3 separate regions of the Homo sapiens genome follow, and regions 1 and 2 are each linked to region 3. The links are contacts of gene promoters, found by promoter capture Hi-C in blood cells and fetal thymus (Javierre and others, 2016). All regions are on one chromosome and are shown on one strand. The core of a region is centred on a gene start or on the middle of the fragment in contact, and the rest is flanking DNA. Distances in the headings are between cores, read along the strand shown. Region 1 overlaps SHOC1 (shortage in chiasmata 1). Region 2 has its middle 24 kb from the start of SHOC1. Region 3 holds the start of HSDL2 (hydroxysteroid dehydrogenase like 2).

What was found. Contacts are between HindIII fragments. The CHiCAGO score rates a contact against its expected background, and 5 or more counts as called.
Region 1: a fragment that was not itself captured here is called in contact with the fragment with the promoter of HSDL2 in region 3 in 1 of 17 cell types (total B cells); the score reaches 5.5 in total B cells.
Region 2: a contact is called between a fragment that was not itself captured here and the fragment with the promoter of HSDL2 in region 3, in 1 of 17 cell types (M1 macrophages). The highest score is 5.0, in M1 macrophages.

The regions. Positions count from the first base shown.
Region 1 is chr9:111,772,055-111,774,754 of GRCh38, reverse strand. The region is part of intron 5 of SHOC1 (shortage in chiasmata 1); the gene reads left to right. Among named protein-coding and RNA genes, the nearest start is that of SHOC1, 22 kb to the left of the region's middle. The HindIII fragment of the contact is 4,685 bases long and covers 1-2,700 here.
Region 2 is chr9:111,817,392-111,820,091 of GRCh38, reverse strand. No RefSeq gene overlaps it. Among named protein-coding and RNA genes, the nearest start is that of SHOC1, 24 kb to the right of the region's middle. The HindIII fragment of the contact is 3,992 bases long and covers 1-2,700 here.
Region 3 is chr9:112,378,680-112,381,379 of GRCh38, reverse strand. It overlaps HSDL2 (hydroxysteroid dehydrogenase like 2), which reads right to left and starts at 1,272. Exons shown (of 11, transcript NM_032303.5): 1 at 1,200-1,272. The coding sequence starts at 1,216. It also overlaps a transcript of PTBP3 not described here. RefSeq lists a silencer at 1,069-1,318 and enhancers at 1,539-1,658, 1,090-1,689, 1,689-1,938, 2,039-2,088. The HindIII fragment of the contact is 10,070 bases long and covers 1-2,700 here.

The DNA.
Region 1 (2,700 bases), core at 186-2,685, 610 kb after region 3:
AAATTATGTATAAAATTTTTAGCATTGGCAAATAGCTGTGTGATGATATATATATAGAGAGAGAGAGAGAGAAATTCCTCTTATAGTTGGAAGAGATAGAGAGATTAGTTGCATTAAGAACTAAAACTTGAGAGCATGATATAGTAGAAAGAGCCTGAATTTGGAGTCAGAAGACTTGAATTTTCAGTCCAAGTCTACTCGTAAAAAGTGGAACATCACTTGAGGCCAGGAGTTTGAGACCAGCCTGGGCAACATGGCAAGACCCTGTCTCCACAAAAAGATTGTTAAAAATTAGCCAGGTGTGGTGGCAGTTCTGTAGTCCTAGCTATTTGTAAGGCTGAAGTGGGAAGATTGCTTGAACCCAGGTGTTCAAGGCTGTAGTAAGCCATGATCGTGCCACTGCACTCCAGCTTGGGTGACAGAGTGAGACCCTGTCTGGAGAAAAAGTGGTTTTGAGATTTGGGAGAAAATTTTTAAGATTTTTAAATTTTGTTCTATAATTTATTTCTATTATATATTCTTCTATTTTTTAATAATTTTTTGTGGGGATAAACTAATATATGTAAGTTTATATAAGTATATTTAAAGAGATGGCTTATAAAAACTAATGGGTTACACAAACATAGTAGTATAAATGTGGCAAACTAGAAGCTACTGTCGGCTAGAATCAACTATTGACTGAGAGAAAATATGCTTGAATTTCCCAAATGCATACACATTGTCCATATCCTATATTTCCTCAGGTGTCCTGTGTCACCGGACATCACTTTATAAATTTAGATTTTTAATTTTATTTATTTTCTTTGCAATTATATTGATTGCTGCCAGATTTGTAGATAATTTGGTCTTATTGTCTAAATCAAAAGGAACATAGTATATTTGGGGATTTGTAAATATGCTATGTCTTATAAGAATTATAAATAATTACTAAATTATAATTTCAAAACACATATATCTTTAAAACATAAAACAGTGGCTGGTTTTCTTTTATGGTTGTTGGTTTATTGATATTTGCTAATTTTTCTACAATGTTCACATATTATTTGTTAATACATGAAACTCTTAAGCATCTCTCTAGGTATCCTGGGAACATATAAACAAATATAAATGTAGCTTTTATTTTTATTTTAAAAAATAAAGTTAGGCCAGCCACAGTAGCTCATGCCTGTAATTCCATCACTTTGGGAGACTGAGGCGGGTGGATCACCTGGGGTCAGGCGTTCGAAACCAGCCTGGCCAACGTGGTGAAACCCTGTCTCTACCAAAAATACAAAATTAGCTGGGCGTAGTGGCAGGCACCTGTAATCTCAGCTATTTGGGAGGCTGAGGCAGGAGAATCACTTGAACCTGGGAGGCAGAGGTTGCCATGAGCCGAGATCACACCATTGCCCTCCAGCCTAGGCAACAAGAGTGAAACTCCATCTCAAAAAATAATAAATAAAAATAAAATAAAATAAATAAAGTTGCATATGCATATAGTTTAGAGAGTCAAATAGTTTGTTAAAGTTTACAATAAAAAGCAGTAATCTGACTTATCGTTTTAAAATGGTGGCACAGAAGCAAGCTGGCTTCACTGCTCATATGGGAAACCAAAAACAAATATACAATGCCAAAATTTTCACTAGCAACAACTCACATCTCAAATATGAGGATGAGACAGATCCTAGGGACACAGAGAAGTGAAAAAACTTCAAGCAGACGGTAGGAGAATCCAACTTCCATATCCATGATGCCCCACCCTGCCCATTCTGCCTGACAACAACCACATGGAAAATCTTCCCCAAACTCATGGTTTCTATGCTGGAAAAAGTGAGAGTGGCATAGTCAACTAGCTTTCCCTCCATCTTGGATTCCCTGGCAGGAGACTTCTTTATTTAACCTGTGGAAAGCATCATGACTGCCTGAAAGGAGAGACAAAGAGGGGAGAAGGGACTACCTTCCCCAGCCCTGGAAACTCTGCTCGGTAACTCAGGCAAAGGAGCCAAATCACAATAGCTAATTTGTGCCACAGGTCCCTTGGGCACGAACCTCTAGCCAGACTTCTGTCACTGTTGGGATAATCATTTTCAGACTCTCCCATTTGGGGCAGACAGTGCCCTGACCATTTGCTAGAGGCAAGGCAAACCTGGGCTTAAGATATCACCTATAGCCAAGAAAAAGGCAATAGTAGTGAAGATTTGCTAAGAAAATATATCCAATAAAAACCAAGACAAGTTGAATAGAGGAAGCTGGAATAAATAACCAATCCTTCAATGCAAAGACATAGACATATACCCACAAGAAACAACACTGAATAGGGAAATGTGACCTCTGCAAAAGGACAAAGGAAAAATCCAGTGACCGACCCTAACAAGACAGTCATTTGTGAGCTCTCTGACCAAAAATTCAAAAGAGCAGTTTCAAGGAAATTCAGTGATCTCTAAAATAATACAGAAAAGCAATTCAGAAAATTGCTGGAGAAATTTAACAAAGAGAATTTGTTAAATTTTTAAAGTTAACTTTAAAAACTCAAACAAATTTTGGAACTGAGAAATACGTTTGCTGAGCTGAACAACTAATTAGAGGCTCTCAACATCCAAATGGAACAACCAGAGGGAAGAATCAGTGAGCTCAAAGACCAGCTATTTGAAAATACAGTCAGAGGAGAAAAAAGAAAAAAGAAAGAAAAAGAACAAAAACTGCCTACAAGATATAGAAAAT
Region 2 (2,700 bases), core at 100-2,599, 560 kb after region 3:
ATCCTTATCATTAACCACTGGAAGATGCTGGTAGGAGGGTTATCCAAACAGTATAAAGATGTTCTCGGGACCAGGCGCGGGGGCTCACGCCTGTAATCCCAGCACTTTGGGAGGCTGAGGCAGCTGTATCACGAGGTCAGGAGCTTGGGACCATCCGGACTAACCCGGTGAACCCCCATCTCTACTAAAAATAGAAAAAATTAGCCGGGTGTGGTGGCGGGCGCCTGTAGTCCCAGCTACTCAGGAGGCTGAGGCAGGAGAATTGCCTGAACCTGGGAGGCAGAGCTTGCAGTGAGCCGAGATCGCGCCACTGAACTCCAGCCTGGGCGACACAGCGAGACTGTCTCAAAAAAAAAAAAAAAAAAAGAGAGATGTTCTCAAAGGCCTAGGTGCCACATGGGACCTGAAGAGCCATGTTTGTTCATTGTTTTAACTGTAGGTACCCCAAAGATCCAGCTTCATAAATACCCATGTTCTGGGGTTGGTCTAGAAGATGACCATCAATATGACTATGTGGTTGTATCAGATGGTGAGTGCAAAGAAGATGCAATAATCTTGAACCAAGAACTCCCTGTTCCACACCAAAGTGCCCCATTATTGCCACAGATTTGAGAAACACCTTAGTTTTAGGTTTAGAAAAGGTATATAACAACACAATGGAAATACATTTCTCAGTCACATTCATGTGTGCAAAATGTAAATGATTTCCTTATAACTCACTTTAGCTCATGGGTTATTTCACTGATAATGGAAAACCTAACTCTGTAATCCAAAGTAATCTCAGTTACTTGCAGTTTAAACTCAATCTTTTTTGGTTAAATAGTCAAATTAGGATTTTCTCCTTTTACTTCCTTCTCTCCCTTCTTGGGGTGTAACATCTAGGTTCTGAATGATCCAAGTCCTCCTGGGTGGTCTATCATCCTGACTTTGGGAAAGAGGAACATGGTTTATGGGCTTCAGCAAACCACCTAGTTGGCTTCTTCTAAGATGAATAATCTGTTTCTTTTGTATTGGTTGCCTATCCCCCCTATAACGGTGCTGAAATGTCTGTGCCCACTTGGCTCATCAGTCCCCAGGACCTCACAAGTCACTCTAAGTCTTCCTCATCCTGACCTCTCCAGGTCCACTGGCCTCACTTTCAGTCATTTTTGTCCTTCTTTAGTTTTTTTTAATTAGATTTTTTAAAACTATGGTAAAATATATATAAGAATTTTCATTTTAATCATTTAAAGTGTACATTTCAGTGGCATTCTTGCTCGTCTTTATATTGTTGAGCCACCATCATCACTATCCATCTCCGCAATACTTTCATCACCCCAAACTGAAGCTCAGTACCTATTAAAGAATAGCTCTGTATTCTCTCCTCCCTCTAGCCCCTGGTAACCACTTTTCTACTTTCTGTCTGTATGAATTTGACCGTTCTAAATATTTCACATAAGTGGAATCCTACAGGATTTGTCCTTTTGCATCTAGCTCATTTCACTTAGCACAATTTTTTTTTTTTTTTTTTTTTTTTGAGCCATAGTCTCACTCTGTCACCCAGGCTGGAGTGCAGTGGCGCGATCTTAGCTCACTGCAATCTCCACCACCTGGGTTCAAGCGATTCTCCTGAATCAGCCTCCAGAGTAGGTGGGACTACAGGCACGTGCCACCATGCCCGGCTAATTTTTTGTATTTTTAGTAGAGACGGGGTTTCACCGTGTTAGCCAGGATGGTCCTGATCTCCTGACCTCGTGATCCACCCGCCTTGGCCTCCAAAAGTGCTGGGATTACAGGTGTGAGCCACCATGCCCAGCTCATTTAGCGTAATGTTTTATAGGTTCATCCATGTTTAGCATGTTTCAGAATTTCACTCCTTTCAAAGGCTGAATACTATTCCATTGTATGGATACATCACATTTTATTTATCCATTTATCTGTTGATAGGCATTTGGATTGTTTCCAGCTGTTGGCTATTGTGAATAAAGCTGCCATGAACATGGATGTACAAATATCTGAGTCCCTGCTTTCAATTCTTTTGGGTAAATATCTAGAAGTGAAATTGCTGGATCATATGATAATTCTATTTTCATTTTATGAGGAGCCGCCATACTGGGAACTTTTGAAGGTTTTTCTGAAACCACCTTTGCAAAAAGTATAACTGAGAAAATTATTACAGTGAAAACGATCTGACCTAACCGACTCCGTCTTGCTTCTAACCTCCAAGGTGTCCTTGTTCATTCCAGGGTGGAGGCCAAACTAACTTTGAGAGGAATTTAGTTTATAGTTTAACTTTGAAACAAAGAAGATAACAGCTCTTTCCCAAAACAAACTCCCTTTCTGACTAGAGATTAGATTGGTTTTGTAGGACTAATAAATTAGCCACAAGATTAGAAATTATGGTTTAGGAGTCCTGTGGCTGGAGGCTGCAAGATTCTGAACCTCTCAAATTTCTCCTGAGAATAACAAGACTATTATAAAACCTAAGATCAGCATTTGAGATATTTTCCAGACCTTGCACTCAGTGGATCAGGTGGCACCAACTAGATCGATAAATTGGCTCATCTGGTCTTGTGGTCCCTACCCAGGAACCGGCTCAGTGCAAAGGAACAGCTTTGACTCCTTATGATTTCACCTCTGACTCGACCAATCAGCACTCTCCGCTTTCCAACCACCTACCCACCAAATTATCCTGAAAAACCCTGGTCTCTGGTTTTCAGG
Region 3 (2,700 bases), core at 23-2,522:
AAAAGAAAAAAAAAGGAGGCGGAAGATCTGCCATGTACTAAAAATGTATGTCCCTGGGCACAGCGGTGCATGCCTGTAATCCTAAATACTCCAGAGGCTAAGAAGGGAGGAACATCAGCCTGGGAGTTCAAGGCTACAGGCCAGTCTGGGCAACATGGGAGACCCCGTCTTTAAAAAAAACAAAGAAAGAATGTCCCAAGACATACCAACTAAAAGTAGCAAGACCAAGAATAGAGTCTGCTGCTATTTTTAAGAAAGGGTATGTGTGTGTGTGTGTGTGTGTGTGTGTGTATCCGGATGTATACAAATTATGTTCATACATGCACGAAATAGAAACGTAAGTAACTGGGGAACTAGATTTTAGGGATGGGGAGACTCACTTTTTACCCTATACTCTTTGAACTGTTTTAAGTCTTTGGCTATATGCCTGCATGTTTCAGGCAAATTACAAAATCTGACAACACGTCACTCAACTCAAGATACCCAGACCTTACATAAACCAGAAAGTAGAATGGTGGTTGCCAATGTACGAGCGGAGGTGGGGAAGAGGAGTTGTTTCATGGATAGAGTTTCAGCTTGCAGATGAAAAAAGTTCTGGAGATTGACTGCACAACGATATGAATCTACTTAACACTACTGAAGTGTACACTTAAAAAACGGTTAAGATGGCAGATTTTGTACGTATTTTAACACAATTTTTTAAGGTGAAAAAAAAATCCCCCAAAGATACCCATGTTTTAAGATCGGTTTAGTTTCTAATTTGGAAATCATTTTTTAAACACTCCATTATTACTCTAGAATTGAGCGTCAGGAACAAGTGAAAACTCTTTAAACTCTGGAGCTGCTCCTGCGACCTTTCACCTAGAACTCACACGCATTCGGCCAGGCACGCACTCCTGCTAAACTCAGGGAGGGCCGGCACTGGGGGCGGCGTGGTGACTCCCCCTCGGCCCTTTACCCGTGGAAAAGGTTTCTACACTGCTGCCATCCTGTAATACAAAAGTTTGTGTTCCTTTTCACACGTTACCGCAGATTCTCGGTGCACAGTGCCCAGCGCGGACCAGAGCTCAGAGCGTGCCCAGGCAGTATCCTTGACCTCCCACAGCCGGGCCGGCCAGCCCGGGCGATCCGCGGCGGCCCCACCGAGACGCGCCCTTCGCCCGACAGGGTCTCTCCCCGCGCCGCCCCTACCCCCTTACCCGGTGTTGGGTAACATGACTTTCGTAGATCAGAGGAGGTGGCGGCGACAGCGGCGGCGGCGAGCAGAGAGCTAAAGCTGGACCGTCCCTCCGCATTTATCCCCGCCCCTGCCCCGCCCCTGCCCCCCCCGATGCCTGTGCGGGAACTGCGCGCGGAAAAGCCGGGATCGCCGAGTGCGCCTGCGTATGCAGTGGGCCTCCTGCGCCCAGCGTTCCTCTTCGTCGCCTCCCAAGCCTGGTCCCTGATTGCAGGCTCTCCGCGCAGGCGCTTTGAGGCACAGCTCCGCCCCGCCCCCTCACTGGTCGTACGGTGACAATCAGGCTCCTGTCGGCGCCTAGCGTCTGGGCAGCGTCAGCCGCTACGTCCACCTTTTCCCTGTCTCTAGGGGTTTCTCCTCGCGCCGCTGTGTTCCAGCGCCGGCTCCGAGCTGGGAGGGTGACTGAGCCCTGAGCTTGGGCCCTCCGAGAGGTGCGTTAGCTCTGGGTCTTCTTGCCCCTACGCCCGAGCCTGGCGTTCTCTCGGCCCCCTCTTAGGAACGCTAGCCCTGGGCAGAAATTGCCTTTGTGGCTGAAGTCGGCCAGCGTCGCGTTTCCACTCTCCCGCCGAATCTGGACCCAAGCCAGCCTTCCCTTGTGCATCGGTAGATAGCTTGTGTTAAGGCGCCAGCTTCTTGGAACAGAGCTCTCTGCAAAAGTCGCGCTGAAGAATTCATAGTCAAAAGCTGAACTTGCAGAAGTTTCTACTTCTGGAATGAGTGTTGAAATGAGATCAATTCTGACATTCAGTTTCGCTTTTGGGATTATGCCTTGGACTAACTCAGCTACTCTGATGAGCTAAAGACTGTAGTATATTTGAAGGAAGACACGAGGAACTGTTTTGTATTTTGTAGGGATAGAACAGGACCTTGAGGAGATTATTATATGAAGACTAGTTAAAGAAACTAGCCTGGAGATGGCTTATGTACTCTCTCCTTTGTTTTTGTTTTGTTTTTTGAGACGGAGTCTCGCTGTCGCCCACGCTGAAGTGCAGTGGCGCGGATCTCGGCTCATTGTAACCTCCGCCTCCCGGGTTCAAGTGATTCTCCTCCCTCAGCCTCCGGAGTAGCTGGGACTACAGGCATGCATCACCACGCCTGGCTAATTTTTTTGTGTTTTTAGTAGAGACGGGGTTTCGCCATGTTGGGCTGGCTGGTCTCGAGCTCCTGACCTCAAATGATTGGCCCGCCTCGGCCTTCCAAAGTGCTGGGATTACAGGCGTGAGCCTCCGCGCCCGGCCTCTCTCCCCTTTGTTATGGGCCCTAAATGACTCTATTTCCTCCTGCATATCACCTGCCCGACTCCTGTAGGCATTTGAATTGATGATTCATGATACGGTCTTTAGAGGCTCCAGAGGAATTTGCAAATTATTATCATCCACTAAGTGATTGCTGATTACCTGAGATACAGCAGCTCAAAAAGGACAAGGTCTCTGCCTATGGGAGGTATGAGTAGCCAGTGTGTT